Linked DNA regions of Homo sapiens: all the other regions are linked to region 1. The links are contacts of gene promoters, found by promoter capture Hi-C in blood cells and fetal thymus (Javierre and others, 2016). All regions are on one chromosome and are shown on one strand. Each heading gives the region's core, a stretch centred on a gene start or on the middle of the fragment in contact. The rest is flanking DNA. Distances are from core to core; before and after follow the strand shown. Region 1 holds the start of RAB4A (RAB4A, member RAS oncogene family). Region 2 has its middle 71 kb from the start of RHOU. Region 3 has its middle 16 kb from the start of RHOU. Region 4 has its middle 33 kb from the start of RHOU. Region 5 has its middle 50 kb from the start of RHOU. Region 6 holds the start of RHOU (ras homolog family member U).

The links. The method cuts DNA at HindIII sites, captures the fragments that hold promoters and counts their contacts. A CHiCAGO score of 5 or more calls a contact.
Region 2: a fragment that was not itself captured here is called in contact with the fragment with the promoter of RAB4A in region 1 in 14 of 17 cell types (fetal thymus, naive CD4 T cells, total CD8 T cells and 11 more); the score reaches 20.2 in fetal thymus.
Region 3: a fragment that was not itself captured here is called in contact with the fragment with the promoter of RAB4A in region 1 in 2 of 17 cell types (naive CD4 T cells and neutrophils); the score reaches 7.3 in naive CD4 T cells.
Region 4: a fragment that was not itself captured here is called in contact with the fragment with the promoter of RAB4A in region 1 in 6 of 17 cell types (naive CD4 T cells, total CD4 T cells, total CD8 T cells and 3 more); the score reaches 8.4 in naive CD4 T cells.
Region 5: a contact is called between a fragment that was not itself captured here and the fragment with the promoter of RAB4A in region 1, in 2 of 17 cell types (naive CD8 T cells and naive CD4 T cells). The highest score is 5.8, in naive CD8 T cells.
Region 6: a contact is called between the fragment with the promoter of RHOU here and the fragment with the promoter of RAB4A in region 1, in 15 of 17 cell types (total CD4 T cells, naive CD8 T cells, monocytes and 12 more). The highest score is 41.6, in total CD4 T cells.

What each region holds. Positions count from the first base shown.
Region 1 is chr1:229,269,617-229,272,398 of GRCh38, forward strand. It overlaps RAB4A (RAB4A, member RAS oncogene family), which reads left to right and starts at 1,495. Exons shown (of 8, transcript NM_004578.4): 1 at 1,495-1,754. The coding sequence starts at 1,724. It overlaps RAB4A-AS1 (RAB4A antisense RNA 1), which reads right to left and starts at 1,538. Exons shown (of 2, transcript NR_149313.1): 1 at 1,360-1,538. RefSeq lists silencers at 1,307-1,836, 1,877-2,036. The HindIII fragment of the contact is 1,493 bases long and covers 982-2,474 here.
Region 2 is chr1:228,663,400-228,666,221 of GRCh38, forward strand. It overlaps a transcript of RHOU not described here. Among named protein-coding and RNA genes, the nearest start is that of RHOU, 71 kb to the right of the region's middle. The HindIII fragment of the contact is 596 bases long and covers 962-1,557 here.
Region 3 is chr1:228,717,767-228,720,594 of GRCh38, forward strand. It overlaps a transcript of RHOU not described here. Among named protein-coding and RNA genes, the nearest start is that of RHOU, 16 kb to the right of the region's middle. The HindIII fragment of the contact is 4,933 bases long and covers 1-2,828 here.
Region 4 is chr1:228,701,295-228,703,994 of GRCh38, forward strand. It overlaps a transcript of RHOU not described here. Among named protein-coding and RNA genes, the nearest start is that of RHOU, 33 kb to the right of the region's middle. The HindIII fragment of the contact is 186 bases long and covers 1,346-1,531 here.
Region 5 is chr1:228,683,986-228,686,685 of GRCh38, forward strand. It overlaps a transcript of RHOU not described here. Among named protein-coding and RNA genes, the nearest start is that of RHOU, 50 kb to the right of the region's middle. The HindIII fragment of the contact is 9,589 bases long and covers 1-2,700 here.
Region 6 is chr1:228,734,223-228,736,922 of GRCh38, forward strand. RHOU (ras homolog family member U) reads left to right here and starts at 1,257. Exons shown (of 3, transcript NM_021205.6): 1 at 1,257-1,782. The coding sequence starts at 1,521. The HindIII fragment of the contact is 4,915 bases long and covers 71-2,700 here.

The DNA.
Region 1 (2,782 bases), core at 245-2,744:
TACTCAGGAGCCTAAATCAAACACGACATGCAGAGAGACAAACAAGAAAGCAACAAATGATCTGAGCCACTGAACAAGAAATATATATAAAACAGTTTTAGGAATTACAGCTGTCACAACTTTTCACCATGGGGCCTTCTCTGTGATTTAGAAAAAACTGCATTTATTTGTTATTAGGATCGGAGACAAGAGAAAAATACCGACCCAAATAGCCACTGGGGAAGAGGGAAGCTCTGATGCCAATTTATGTGGAGGATGGAGCCAAACTGACTCACACACACACACACAAAAGTATGTACTGGCATTTTCCACACAGTCCAGGTCACTTGGGAGCTTAGCCAAGGATATTTTGAGCATTCGACTACCTATTGTGAACAAGGTTGGGAACTATGAGGCGCTATGTGGCCCTGATCAAGCTCAGATGGGCCAAATCCTCAACCAAAATTCTCTTTCCCATAAATGTTTATCTCTACATTTCCCACAGAAGGGGATTCTAACTCAGTTTTGCTTCTGAAACCAAACTATCCAAGGCCAGGTGAGATGACTCATGCCTGTAATCCCAGCAATTTGGGAGGCCAAGGAGGGAGGATGCTTGAACTCAGGAGTTCAAGACCAGCCTGGGCAACATAACAAGACCCCATCTCTACAAAAAATTTAAAAATTGGCGCGGTGTGGTCGTGTGAGCCCCTAGCCCCAGCTACTCAGGAGGCTGAGGCAGGAGAATCGGTTGGGCTGGGCTGACAGTGCCAGACCCTGTTAAAAAATAAAAATTAAAAAAACTCCTAAATTTGGAAACACATCCCCAGCTGAGGGCCGGGAGATACTTCTCAACCGTAATCCAGAACCCTCTAAAATGGGATGTGGAGAGGCTGCAGCCTGTAGTCTTGCGATGACCTTTTAGCACCTGGGCATCTTGCGCTTCTGTCATTCCGCCCACACCCGCTCAGCTCCATCCAAGAGGGCCCGGCAGTTTGGAGTGAAAGCTTAGCTTCCCAACGGGTAAATGAACCTGCCTCCCATTCACAGGGCGGCCTCTGGCTGGACACCTGGGGCCTACTGCCTCCTTGTTACACATTAACCAAGTTCTGGCCTCCATCGTAACAGCGTCAGGGAAGTTTTTTCCTGGCTGACAGCCGCAGATGATGACCGAAGACAACGTCTTAACTGAGACGGGCCAATTTGGCAAATGGACTGCTTTCCTCCCCAGTGCGGGCACCTTCCTCCTCTGTCCGGCAACTGGACCCCACTGTCCCCAGCCCTCTGTCACCCCCAAACCTGCCCACCGCCCGCCTCTACCCGACCCTCCCTCAGGGAAATCGGGACTCAGCCCCCAACGCCCCCACCTGCCGCTCTGCCCACCTCAGCGCACACCGCCAGAGCGCCCAGCCCGCGCACGTGCTTCCGGCGCGCGCCGAAGTCCTCACGCGCCCCGCCCCGGCCTCCCCGTGCGCACGCGCGAACGCGGGGTGGGCCGGGCCTCGCGTAGCCCATCTCCTCTTCCTCCTCGCGGTCGCGGCCGGACGGAGGGTGGAGGGCCCTGCGCCTGCGCGGAGCTGGAGTCCGGCTGGGCCGCAGCCGCTGGGAGACCGGCGGTTGCCGTGGGGACCGGTCGGGCCCCTCCCTCCTCCGGTCCCCCGCCCCAGGTCCTTCCCCACCGAGACGCGCCGGCGGACCGCGGGCGAGTGCAGCCGGTGACCCGGCGAGAGGCGGCGCCGCTCCCAAGATGTCGCAGACGGCCATGTCCGAAACCTACGGTACGAGGCCCGGGCTGGCGGGGCGCGCGGGTCGGGCCGCGGGGGGCGTCGGTGGCGCGGGGCCGGGCCTGGGCTGCGGGGGTCTTGAGGGTGGCGGTGGCGCCGGCCGGAGCCGGGGGACGGATCTCGGAGGTGTCTGGGCTTGGGACCGGGATGGGGGACGCGGGCCGCTGGGGGCTCGGGTGGGGTAGCGGGTGCGCGGGGCGCGGGGGCGCTGTGCACAGCGCATTGGCGTGATCCGCCTTTTCAAGTTTCCTCTTGCTCTTTCTCTGCTCTTGCACTCTTAGCGCTTTTCCCCTCTCAGTCTAATGTAAATAACTGAAGGTTTGAAAAGCCAGCTTGATGTTCGGTTTCAGCTGCGATATTATCCCCAGCGAGCCTGTGAAGGGCTTAGGGCGACGCCTGTGTTCCTCAAATACTTCAGTTTGACCTTTCCTGGTTTGGAATTCCTTGCTTTACATTGGGATTACAGTGAGGAGTTATTAATAGGCTAATTCATTCATCTCTTCCTCCGGAGACCTCTTGCTTCGTTTATTTCTCCCTCCCTCTCAGTGTTTTTTAGCCTTTTCTGGGTTGCATTTTGGCTATTTATAAACATGTCTTGTCTCCTTCTTAAGACCGTAAGCACCTTGGAAGCAAAGCCCTGGCTGTTTAATCTTTGTTTCCCCTGCAGCACCCAGACCTGGAGGTGCTTGACAAATACTGTTTTGAATAAGCGAAAGCTTTCCCAGTGCATATGCTGTGTGCTTTTTTTTTTTTCTCCCCTTTTTTGGCCTTGCGTGGTAAGAATAAACAACTTGTACTTTGTATCAGAGTTGAATATTAATAGATGTTTACCAGTCCCTAATCACTCTTTCAGATGTATGTATTCTCAGATTAAGACTTTGATTTGGAGTTTTACAGTCCCAGAGAGAGGCTCAAGTTCAAAATTACATACCTCAAGCCAAATTAGTCCTGTCTCCATCTGTCCTGGCATGCTGCTTCCTTCTCTGCAACAAATACTGTGGAATGGCATTAGGGAAGCGAGC
Region 2 (2,822 bases), core at 10-2,509, 610 kb before region 1:
TGTGTGTGCAAATTACCAGACTAGGCACTTATCACAATATTCTCAACTCATAGGAAAGCAATAATAAGGAAAATCGGAAAAGTTAAGCATATTCTTACTATTGAGTTTAAGAAGAAAAAAGAAAAGTTAAAAAAAATTAAGCAGCAATATCTCAACACATAGCTGACATTATTTTTCTTTATTTTTATTTTTCTTTTCTGTTTTTCTTTTCTTTTCTTTTCTTTTCTTTTTTTTTTTTTTTTTTTTTTTTTGAGACGGAATTTCACTCTGTCCCCCAGGCTGGGGTGCAGTGGCATGATCTCAACTCACTGCAACCTCCGCCTCCCGAGATCAAGCGATTCTCCTGCCTCAGCCTCCCACGTAGCTGGGATTACGCGCGCGCGACACCATACCTGGCTAATTTTTGTATTTTTAGTAGAGACGGGGCTTCACCATGTTGGCCAGGCTGGTCCCGAACTCCTGACCTCAAGTGATCCACCCGCCTTGGCCTCTCAAAGTGCTGGGATTACAGGCGCGAGCCGCCACGCCCGGCCAACATAGCTGGATTTCTTTTTCTTCTCCCCTCCCCTCCCCTCCCCTTCCCTCCCCTCCCCTCCCCTCCCCTCCTCTCCCCTCTCCTTTTTTTCTCTTCCCTTCTCTTCTTTTCTTATCTTCTGTCGCCCAGGCTGGAGAGCAGTGGCACTATCACGGCTCACTGCAGTCTTGACCTCTCGGGCTCGCGTGATCTCCCACTTCAGCCTACCGAGTAGCTGGGACTACAGATGTGTGCCACCAGGCTCGGCTAATTTTTTGTAGTTTTTGTAGAGGCGAGGTTTCTCCATATTTCCCAGGCTGGTCTCGAACTCCTGGGCATCGGCCCTCCTCGGCCTCCCAAAGTGTTGGGATTACAGGTGTGAGCCGCTGCGCTCGGCCTGGATTTCTTCATAAAGATAAAATTGGAAATAAAATTGCAGCCCAAGTAAGCTTCCAAGTGGCTCATTTGTTCCTCAAATGAGGAAAGCCATTTGCGGATAGCGAATCAACAAATCATGTTTGTACTCATTTTCTCAGAAACGTATTCTGAGAAAATAATCTTTATGAAGAATGTTAACCTTTTTGCTAGGTGGGGTGGGACTTTGGGAAAAAACCCAACAGTTTATTAAAACAAACAAAGCAAGAAACCAAATTGTCCGGCAGAGGGCAGCATTACCCCACAGAGCCAAAACCTTTGCCAGGAGGAACCCGTGTTCATTGCCAAGATTGATTGATTTTGAGACAGAGGTTTGTCCTTGTTGCCCAGGCTGGAGTGCAATGGCGCAATCTCAGCTCATTGCAACCTCCGTCTCCCAGGTTCAAGCAATTCTTCTGCTTCAGCCTCCCGAGTAGCTGGGTTTACAGGCGCCTGCCACCATGACCGGCTAATTTTTTGTATTTTGGTAGAGATGGGGTTTCACCATGTTGGCCATTTTGGTCTCGAAATCCTGACCTCAGGTGATCCACCGACCTCAGGTGATCCATCCGCCTCGGCCTCCCAAAGTGCTGGGATTACAGGTGTGAGCCACCGTGCCCGGCTTGCCAAGCTTTATTAACTAACATTTGTGGTGCCAGGCTGTTATGGTGATTTCTTCCTATTAGCTTATTTAATCTTCATGAAAACCCTTCAAGATAGGTACTATTTTATTTTCATTTTACAAATAAGAAAACTGAAACTCAGAATGGCTAAGTGACTTTTACCTGGTTCACATATCAATTAAGGTCAAGCCTTTGGCTCCAGGACCTATGTTTTTATTGAAGTAAATGATTATAAAGTGCCTGCTATGCACTAGGCATGGTCTAAGCACTTCACATGCTTTAATTACTTTAATCTTTATGATAACCCCAAGATTTAGGTACTATTATTACCATTTCCATTGTACCGATAAAGAAACCAAGATAAAGAGGTGAAGGTGATCCTACCTTCCCAAGGGAACTCCCACTGTCAGGCTTGAGTCCACAGGAGAGGCTCTAGCTGCTCTACGTGGCAGCACTAGGGTGAAGGCAGTGAGGCTCCTACTGCTCTGGTTCTGGCTGGGTCACACATGTCGGGGATGGGTTGCCAGCTCCCTCAATAAACCCCTACCTAGTCTTCTGAGTGACTCAAATCAGGTATCTTTGGTAGAGTGGAGTGGGGAACAGTAATATATCTTTGAGTGGAGTGGGGACAGTAATATATCTTTGAGTAGAGTGGGATGGGGAACACTAATATGAGTCCCAGAGTCCCAGGATTGAGAACCTGCAGTTCTGATGTCAGAGAGCAGAAGTTGGATGTCCTAGCTCCAGAATAAAGAGCAAATTTGTCCTTCCCCTGTCTTTTTGTTCTGTTGAGACCTTCAAGGAATTGGAAGAATAATGCCTATCCACATTGGTGAGGACAGATCATTTTGACTCAGTCTAGTGGTTCAAATAGTAATACCTTCTACCCTGGGAGAAAGCAGTCCCTCCAGGGTCAGCAAGGCCCCAAGATGTCAAAGCATCAAAAATACAGAATAAAAAGGTCATAATTAACACAAGATGGACAAAAGCCTTCTTCACCCCAGCATCTAGAAGTGTTCTTTTTTTTTTGACAGAACCTTGCTCTCACCAAGGCTGGAGTGCAGTGGTGTGATCTCGGCTCACTGCAACCTCTGCCTCCCGGGTTCAAGTGATCCCCCCACCTGAGCCTCCCAAGTAGCTAGGATTGCAGGCGTGCACCACCATGCCTGGCTAATTTTTTTGTATTTTTAGTAGAAACAGGGTTTCACCATGTTGGCCAGTCTGGTATCGAACTCCTGACTTCAAGTGATCCATCCACCTTAGCCTTTCCA
Region 3 (2,828 bases), core at 17-2,516, 550 kb before region 1:
CCTTCTCAACCTAATCCAGTTATGTGTTTCTGGACACAGGAACTGTTCCATGGACAGCTCCCATGAATCCAGCCAGTCATTTAAAAAGTTAATTCAAGATCAGAAGAACTGGACACAATAAAAAATTCGGGTAATTCCATGCCCTCCATTAACACATTGGACCAGCAGGGTAGTGTCATGTCTGAATATAAAGGATAGGACATATGTATCAATCATTTCATCTGGGCTGACCTCCTTTGAGAACATTATGTCTGTTCTTATTCTACATAGTAAAGATAGATAACTCAGTATTTAAAAATAGGATTCCAAAAGACCATTTCCTTGGGGACACTTAAATTAGAGATCATAATGAGAACCTGGGGAGGTGACAGGAAGTGGTGATACCCTGAGTTCCCCTACGTCCTCCAAAAAAGATGCATCCATTGCTTTCCAGTGAATGGGCTTAGGAGAAAGAACAGCTTTGAAATAGGGAGAATCAAGAAGTTTGCTTGTAGCCATGCTGGGAAGATGGTAGGATGATGCAAATAAGTTTTAAGGACAGATGGAATCTACAATTAAGGTTTGGACAGCTTGGGAAGTATATTAGTTATCTATTGCCACCTAAAAAATTAGCCCAGAATATAATGGCTGAAAACAACAAGTTTATGTGAGTTAGGAATTGGGGAGCAGTTTAATTGGGTGGTTCTGACTCATGAGACTCATGAATTCCAGGAGGCAGGATTATTGGGGCTGTCTTAGATATGCCCTTTGCCAGTCTAGAAGAGTGTAGAAAAAGCTGAGCTTCAGTAAGCATCAAAACTGCCTTTATCAACAGGATAAAGAAATGGGTTGAAACAAGTATTAGACAAGTAGAGGCCCAGAGTCTTAGGGAACTTTCTGAAAGGAGGGAAGCATATGCAGAATAAGTACAAGGTGGTTTAAAGCTCAGATGCAGACTATGTGAGAGAACTTAGAAAACTGTCTTTCTCATCCAGAAGCCTAGAGTCTAAGGTGTGAACCAGGAGGACCAGGTTGGTTGTAGACTGCTATAAACACTTCCGCCAGAACATGAACTGGGAATGTCCACTGCGGGTGACCCTGGATGCTCACTGCAGGAGGGAGTGCATCTCTTACTAGGCAGGGAAGCAGGTTTTGAGAGGGAGTGAACTAAATCTGGTGTCAGCACCAACTCAAATCAGCCAGTTGAGAGATCAAAAGGAAGTATGGCTTTAAAACAGAATATATCGTCTAAAAGGTTTGAAATTTAATTTTAGAAAGCCCTTTAATGGCATCTATTCTACAGCACCTATGTTGGAGGGGGTATATGAGAGTAGAAGGAGGAGGAGTGGAGTATCCTGATGGCTTCACCAGCCATGTCAATATTTGGTTACAGTTCAGATCAAGTGAGACTTAGAAAAACATCCTTCTATATTCCTGTATCATTTTGCTTTCCTATCTATCCATTGGTTGATCAATCCATGTATTCATCAATCCATGCATTCATCCAATGTTTATTGATCATTTACTTTGTGCCTTGATTCTCTAAAGAAACAATAAAAACTGTTGGATTTTCAATTTATAAAATCGTGTGTTTTCCAAAAGTCATTAGCACACTATTCTGTTTCTGGAGTATATTATCACACTAATCAAGGAAAAGGGAACTAATATTTACTGAGGCTCAAAATCACACAATTAATAATTGGGCTGGGTGTGGTGGCTCACGCCTGTAGTCCCCGCACTTTGGAAAGCTGAGGTTGGTGAATCACTTGAGGTCTGGAGTTCGAGACCAGCCTGGCCAACATGGTGAAACCCCACCTCTACTAAAAATATAAAAATTAGCCGGGCATGGTGGTGCACACTTGTAATCCCAGCTACTTGGGAGGCTAAGGAGGGAGGATCACTTGAACCCTGGGGGTGGAGTTTGCAGTGAGCTGGGATCACACCACTGCACTCCAGCCCGGGCGACAGAACATGACTCTGTCTTAAAACAAAACAAAAAACATACAAGCAAACAACAACAACAAAAAAAATGATAAAACTGCAACTGAATTCAGGTTGGCCAGTCCTTTTGATTTACCTTTAAATAATTTATCTTTTCTTAATTCAGTAGCTTTCTCTCCTGACCTGCACTGGTTATTACTTCTTTTGAGAATACTATCATTGCTCCCAAGCAGACCTAAAATAATCCAAGAAAATTACATTAAAATATCGCCGTATCTTTTAAAAAAGTTAGACATAAGCACCCTTTTATGAACATTTATATTTGGTCTCACAGTATAATCATAAGAATTCCTATTAGAAGCCAGGCAAGGTGGCTCATGTCCATAATCCGAGCAACTTTGGAGGCTAAAGCAGGAGGATCACTTGAGGCCAGGAGTTTGATACCAGCCTGGGCAACATAGCGAGACCCCGTCTCTACAGAAAATTAAAAGAAAAAAAAGGACTCCTATTAGATTATGGGCACTTCAGCACAGTTTTTTGTGTGTGTACAAACAACAAACATTTTAAAACAACAGAAAATTGATTATCATGTAATTTTCCATACATAATACATACTATCATAGCATAAGCATAGAAGAAGTACAAGTAAGATTATCTACATGGTTATGAGCTGAAATTTGAATTCATATATCCAAAATATATAAATTTTGTCTCCCCAAAATTCATATGTTGAAGTCCTAACCCCCAATACCTCAGAATGTGACTTTATTTGGAAACAGTGTTTTTAAAGAGGCAGTTAAAATGGTCATTAGGGTGGGCCCTGATCCAATATGACTGGTGTCCTCATGAGAAGAGGAAACTAGCACACAGACACATACAAAGGAAGGACCCTGTGAAGACGTGAGAAG
Region 4 (2,700 bases), core at 189-2,688, 570 kb before region 1:
TTTGTTAGTGATAATTAAAAGGTTTTAAAAAGCAAAAACTTTTACTCTTTGATTAGAGGAGACCCAGTCTTCCCAAAGATTAAAATATCTAATAAAGACAGCATTAGACAGAATCTATCTCTCCTTTTCTCCTCTTGCTGTCTCATTTTTTTTGAGATGTCTCTAAAAGTGAACAAAAATTTTTTATTATCTCTTATTATTACTTTACAAAAATCTTGTTTAAAAGAGAAAACCAAAGTTTGCTTTTGTATTAATGAATTATCAATATTAAAGCTGATTTTAATAAAACCTTATAAACAAACTAATCTCAGTCAGCTTTTGACCATGCAGATTTCATAAATGTTTTATAATCTCTTACAAAATTTTAAAAATTCTTTTTCTTCCTGACTTTTAATATTATTTAGTTTTATTTATATCTTTTAAAATTCTTTTATCGTAAAATAATATTTAAGTAACTTCTAAACTGGACAAAGTAATTTTTTCTCAACAGCTATGTATTTGTATTCTTTTACAGCTTTTTTTTAATCAAAGCATGTCTTTTTTGTTAGTACACTTTGTATATAGAATTCTCTTATATATGTAGTTTTAATTACATATGTTAACTATAATTTTAACTCTTAGTCACCCTAATTTTCAGTAAAAGTCTAAAAAGTAATTCTGAACTGTTTTATATCAGTATTTATAGATGAAAACCATTTTATAATTTTTACAAAGATATGTTTGCTCAAATTTTTGTTCATTAACAGATCTACATATATTTAGCTTTTTTATATCACAGAAAAATAAGATGCCAAATTATATAAACTTAAATTTATGTTTAATAATTAATGTTTTAGTATTTTAACATACTTGTAAAAAAACTCAGACATTTTATGATTATCTGGTACTTAATTTAAAATAATATGACTTTAAGATTTAAATTACTGAAAAGAATATTAATACTATGATACAAGTACCCTTTCTAATGTTTTTCCCAGTCATCCTGGGTCTCAAGTAGCCACATGACACCTAGGATGGCTATAAGGGGAGGTCCCATCTGGGTCCTAAATTTACATACTAGGTATAGAATTCAGGACAGAAGACAGCTATGAAGATGATGACTGGAGCATTCAGCCCTTCACAGAATGGCCAGGAGGCAAAGCTGGGCCAGGGAGAAAGGGGTCATTTTGAGCTTGACTGTGCCCTGTAGGTGGTGATATAGACACTGAGGACATGTCCCCATATGTTACCAAGGTCACCTGTCTGGACCCCAGAATCCAGAGGCTCGGAAAACAAAAACATAAGCTCACAGTCAAATCAAGCAAATATCAAAAACATAACAGAAGCAGAAGTTTTATGACCTTAAAGCTTGAAGCAGAGATAGCATAAACCTGTCTGACCAGTAGACTCAGGCATAAATATCTATATTATCTTTAAGTGACAATTCTGAAGTCATTTTTTTATTTTATTTTACCAACAATTTAAAAACTAGCTTTCTTCACCAAATAGTATCACATACACATATAGACATATAGACACAAGCAGGTCTTAAAGCTTCCATGAAGAATTCTCATTTGTCAGCTTTCAAATAGTTTTTCTTTTCCCCATTCATACTATCAGTCTTAGAACTATCTGTTTTATTGCTCTAAGTAGTTGTTAGCTACTCCACAATCTGCCTCCTAAAGGGATGACTCTTAGGTGAAACAAGGTAGAAAATTCTCAAAAGCACAGAGCTGAGATTTTAGGCCTAAATATTGTACTATCAGTTGCTCAAACCAAGGGAAAAGATTGTACATAAAGATCCGGTTAAGGCAGCATGGCCTGGAAAAGCACCTTAAACAAAGGCAAGACAATGTATGTACATTTAAAACAACAGTAAGAGTTTCTAGTGACCCAGTCCTCCCTCTCAGACACCCTTTCAAATGGAAATTTCTTTTAGAGATATAAATTTCTCCTATAAAAGTGTTTTGGGGCCAGGCGCGGCGTCTCACATCTGTAATCCCAGCACTTTGGGAGGCCGAGGCGCGCGGATCATGAGGTCAGGAGATCGAGACCATCCTGGCTAACATGGTGAAACCCCGTCTCTACTAAAAATAGAAAAAATTAGCCAGGTGTGGTGGTGGGCACCTGTAGTCCCAGCTACTCGGGAGGCTGAGGCAGGAGAATGGCGTGAACCCGGGAGGTGATGGTTGCAGTGAGCTGAGATCGCGCCACTGCACTCCAGACTGGGCAACAGAGTGAGACTCCATCTCTGAAAAAAAAAAAGTGTTTTAAGATAGCCAGCTAAATGCCAGAAAAGTATATTTTAGAGACTGTTTTAGTTTAATAGGTGGTCTTCTTAACTTAGCTACTTTTTCTTAGCTAAAACTACTGAGTTCAGGATGGAGCTCATTAAGAAACACAGCAATTAAAGCATTCTCTATACCTGGACTTAGCATGGATAGCTTTGAAAAAGAATCAAGGCCATTTAATCTGAGGGCCTACTTTTTATAAACACTGTATCCAGGATAGCTTTCTTTTTGCCTTTGGTTGGGATATGTGTAAGGAAAATAAATCTTAGGACCCCAAATCACTGAGCCAAGGGAAAAGTCAAGCTGGGACCTATGTCAGGCACCCTGCCTCCCATTTCATTCCTAAATAAGATAGCTACAAAGATAAAAAGTGACATACCTCCCTCACAATTTGCCCACAAGGAAATTCTTGGTGGACAACGGAAAGATA
Region 5 (2,700 bases), core at 192-2,691, 590 kb before region 1:
GGAGATCATAGAATCCCAGCGTATGCCTGTGGTTGAAGACTGGTTTTTGTTTGTTTCTTTCTTTCTTTTTGAGACGGAGTCTTGCTCTGTCGCCCAGGCTGGAGTGCAGTGGCATGATCTCGGCTCACTGCAACCTCCAGCTCCCAGGTTCAAGCAATTCTCCTGCCTCAGCCTCCTGATAGCTGGGATTACAGGTGTGTGCCACCATGATGGTCTAATTTTTGTATTTTTAGTAGCGATAGGGTTTCACCCTGATGGCCAGGCTGGTCTTGAACTGCTGACCTCAGGTGATCCTCCCGCCTCAGCCTCCCACTGTGCTGAGATTACCCATGTGAGCCACTGCGCCTGGCCAGTTTGTTTTTTGAGACTAGGTCTCATGTGTCATCCAGGCTGGAGTGCAGTGGCAAGATCTGGCACATTGCAACCTCCACCTCCTGGGCTAAAGTGATCCTTCCACCGCAGCCCCCTGAGTAGCTGGGACTACAGGCGTGCACCACCATGCCCGGCTAATTTTTGTATTTTTTGTAGAAATGGTGTTTTGCCATGTTGGCCAGGCTAGTTTTGAACTCCTGGGCTCAAGTGATCCACGTGTCTCGGCCTAAGTATTGGGATTACAGGCGTGATCTACTGTGCCCTGCTGACATAACTGTTAATATTAGTCCTTTTCACTCTCAGAATCGTTCCTGTTTGGGTGCTAGATTTTGCAGCCACCCCCATAAGGCAGGAAAAAACATGCAGGCTCTGGTAATAGAGTAGTTGTGAGGGTGAGGGAGAAGGAACCACAAGGATGACTTCCAGTTTCTGGCTTGCAGACCAAAAGGGAACGTGGTGCTGTTCCAGGAAACGGTCCCGATAATAGCTCAGACCCTAAGAGAGTGTTCTTGATCTTGTGTAAGAAAGAATTCAGGACGAGTTTGTAAAGTGAAAGCAAGTTTACTAGGAAAGTGGAGGAATAAAAGAACGGCTACTCCATAGACAGAGCAGACCAGCTACTCCGAGAGCTGCTGGTTGCCTATTTCTATGGTTATTTTTTGATGATATTCTAAACAACGGGTGCATTATTTATGTCTCCCATTTTTAGGCTATATAGGGTAACTTCCTGACATTGCCATGACATTTGTAAACTGCCATGGTGCTGGTAGGAGCGTAGCAGTGAGGATGACCAGAGGTCACTCTCATTGCCATCTTGGTATTGGTGGGTTTTGGCTGGCTTCTTTACTGCAGTCTGTTCTGTCAGCAAGGTCTTTATGACCTGTATCTTGTGCTGACTTCTTATCTCATCCTGTGACTTAGAATGCCTTAAGTGTCTGGGAATGCAGCCCAGTAGGCCTCAGCCTTATTTTACCCAGCCTCTATTAAGATGGAGTTGCTCTGGTTCCAATGCCTCTGACAGTAGGAATTTGGGAATGAGTTTTAACAAATACTTGGAAACTGAAACTCAGAGTGAGAGACTAGAAAGAGAGCAAATGCTGTAAAGAGAAATGACCACAAAGGGAAATTAGGAGAAACAAAACTGGAACCAAATGGAGCACCATTCTCTGGATGGTTGATTCTGTGAAAAATTAAAATGGAAATCTATTGAGCATTTGGAGCCAGAGAATGATAGGATACTGCTCTGAGAATTTACTGGGGAATTTGAGAGTTTTAGAAGATAACTAAAGTATTCAGAGACTCATGAAATGACTGTATGTGAATATATATCTTCCTGTTAAAATTATATATAGGTTAAATGTATTTCTGTTAATCAAAATTAATCTTCTCATTGACTTACATTCTAATTGAAAAACCTCTTTGTTCTCCTTTAGTGAAACCCTTAATCAGTAGCATTTGACACTCAGAACTTTTTTGTCTACCGACTCCTTTCTCTTCAAGAGTTAATCTAGTGCAACCCTTAATTATCCCCAGAGCTATTATTAAAAGAATCTGTAAATGGAAGCATTTTTAAAGCCAAGAATCTTAGTAATTTTATTCTGATCAGAGTTTATAAGATCAGAGTTTTACACTTTGACATCTTATTATATGAAGATGAAATAAAACCATTAAGAGGAAACACAATGTAAGTTAGTGATCAGACTTTTGTATTAGTCCATTGACCCCAAAATCTGACTTGCTTATAGGGTTGTGTTATATTTGAGTTTTAGTTATAATTTTGCTACTTATTAGATTTAGAGGAATTAGTTAAATCTCCCTTATCTTCAACTTCTTCATGAATAAAATAAAAATAACTAACTCATGAGGTTTCTATGATATTTAAATGAAACAATAGCTATATAGTGATTAGTACTTTGTAGTTACTCAATGTGTTTTATTAACTAATATTATTATAATAAAGAGTTTCTGTTTGAGGAGATGAAATATTTTGGAAATAGTGGTGATAGTTGTACAACATTATGAATATAATTAATGCCATTGAATTGTATGCTTAAAATTTCTAAAATGGCAATAAAACAATAAAAATATATAAAATACAATAATTACATATTTGCAGTTTAAAACCTATTATGTTTGACAATATATTTCTGAATTTCAGTTTCAGAAATCTAGAGGAATACTCTCCTACACCATGAGACAACTGATATTTAGTGCAAGCCATGGTGAGCACTTGCCCTCTTTTAGTATTGGGTCGGTGCAAAACTCATTGCGGTTTTTGCTATGAAAAGCAATGGCTTTTTAAAGGTCTGGTCTGGCAACAGAGTCAGC
Region 6 (2,700 bases), core at 7-2,506, 540 kb before region 1:
TACCACGTGTACACATTGCTAGGTCTTCCAATGTGAAAGTGTCCTTTGCAAGTCAGGGGTCCTGGATTCAAGCTTCTAACTTCTTGATAAATCCATCTCTGCATTCTGACCATGGCCATACGTTCAAGATTACGTTTATCATACTGACTTATTTTTGCCTCCAGGATTTTGGTTAGAAGCTCAGGCTCTGGGGCTAGACTATTTGGGTTTGGATCCTGGCATTGCCACTTACTAGCTTGTGGAATCCCAAAACGTTACTTAATATCTCTGTGCCTCAGGTGTTCTCATCTGTAAGTAATGTTAAGATTAAAAGAATTAGTTCTTGAAGAGTGCTTACAACAGTATCTGACACATTATGAAAGTTCAGTATTTGTTATTGTTATTTTTACTACCACTAGTATCAATGTGTATTAATAATATGTGGCCCTTCTCACACCACGCTGTACACCCCCAGGACTCTTGGTATTCTGACTTGGCTAAGAGGCGTCCTTTTTCTGAATAGACTGTTGACCACATGTAGAAGGAAGGCAGAGAGAGAAATGAATCAAAGGGAAACGGAATATTTTTTCAGACATATTAATGTCTCCGAATTACCTTTAAGTAAATGAAGGAATTGGGGGTATAAAAAAATTTCTGGAGCATACATGTATAAAGGTTCACGGCATGCCGAAAGACAAAGTCAAAGGAGCATTCACAATGGAGCTGGCATCCTTTTGCTTCAAAATGAGAAAAAATCACACGATCAGCTGCAGTTAGACTTAAGGAAAAAAGCTGTCTGTTAATTCAATCTCATTCGCAGGACAGGCCTCCAGGACACTTCATTTTTCCCCCTGGGTGGAGCCGTGGCCAGCCGGGGGCTCCACGGAGTGAATAGGAGGCGGCTCAGGCTTCCTGGCTCGCGTGGGCGCCAGAAAGCGGAACCTCCCGGGCCAGTCGCGCGGTGGTCACCCTCTTGGGAGCTGGGGAGGAGGCTGCGGAGGCTGGCCCGGCTCCTTCGGGCGTCGCTTCCCGGACCGGGTGCGCGGGGTCCCCCGGAACGTGTGTTCCAGGTCCTCCCGCGCCAGTGTTCGCAGTCCCCGCCTGGTCGCGGCGGCGCCTCGGGCGCGGGTGCAGGCGCGCGGCGCGCAGGCGGGGGGCGCTGTGGTCTTGGCGCGGGGACCGAGCCGCTCGGCCAGACCCGCCTCTTTTCCCTCCCCGCCAGCCCGCCCGCCTGCCCGCCCCCCACGCGTCGTGTCGCCGGGAAGCCGGGCGGAGACAGAGCGCTTGGGATCCACGGCGCTCGGACCGCTGTCCTCCAACAGCGCAGGGCAGAGCGGCTGGCGCCGCCGGAGCGCGGAGCCACGACCCTCCCTGGCCGCCTTTGTCTACTGGCCGTGCGGCCCGGAACCGCCACTCTCCAGGGCCGGGGACGCGCCCGCAGCTGTCGGTGACAGCTCCTCCCTACCGCAACCCTCCGGGGCGGAGGGGCGGTCGGGCCGGGCCCTGCTAGCCCGCGACCGCAAGCCCGCGCTCGCGGATCGATGCCCCCGCAGCAGGGGGACCCCGCGTTCCCCGACCGCTGCGAGGCGCCTCCGGTGCCGCCGCGTCGGGAGCGCGGTGGACGCGGGGGACGCGGGCCTGGGGAGCCGGGGGGCCGGGGGCGTGCGGGGGGTGCCGAGGGGCGCGGCGTCAAGTGCGTGCTGGTCGGCGACGGCGCGGTGGGCAAGACGAGCCTGGTGGTGAGCTACACCACCAACGGCTACCCCACCGAGTACATCCCTACTGCCTTCGACAACTTCTCCGGTGAGCTGGCCGGGGGGCCGGGGCCGGGGGCGCGTGGCCGCGGTCCACCCAGGGGAAGGAAGGTGGCGCGAGGGTCGCGAGGTTCCCAAGGGGGCTGCAGGGCCCCGGGCGCGGCTCCAGCTGGGAAGCCGGACAAATGAGGAGTGCAGGACGTTTCCTGAGTCTCAGGGACCGGGCAAGCGCGGAGCTAACACGAAAGGACCACGGCGGAGTGGGCTTGGAGAGAGGAGGGCGGAGCGGCAGTCAGAGCCTTGCCAAAAAAAAAAAAAAAAAAAATCTCACAATTTAAGCAACAGATAAGTAGGAGTGAAACAGGTTGAGTTCAGGGTGCCCGGTCAGTTTGTTGCATAGAGCAAAGTTTCCTGAGGGCGACGTCGCTGGCGCCGCTGCAGAGTTTCAATCAGAAGGTGACGCGCAGGTGCCTTTACCTGAGCGTCGCTCCTTTGCTTTTAGGCGGCTCAGCTCACAAGGGGCGTCTCCGCTTTAAAGAGCCGCGGAGACGCCGGGAAAACACTTGATTTAGTGAAAAAGCGCGAGCGGCCCTCGTGAAGGCTTAGGTTTGGATGAAACCTGAAGAGTAAACACCATTTCTTTCTTCTGAGCCCCACCACCTTCCCTGCCCACATGGGCTCGGATTCTGATTGTTGGTATCTTTTCAGGATCCCTTTAAGCTACTTAAAGCTCCTATGTACCGGGTGCGATGCCATTTCCCTTGGTAGATACAAAGAGAAAGGAATTCTCTATCTTGCTATTCAGGTCTTTTTGAAATTTAAGAAAAAGTTAAAATTCACAGAAACTAGTATGAAACACTTAACTGTCTTGCTTCTTTAAAAAAAAATTGCTTCTCTGACCTTCCTTTCATCCCAAAGGTACCTTAGAGAAATGGGTGCTGTACTGGTGGGTTCCCACCGCAGGGTA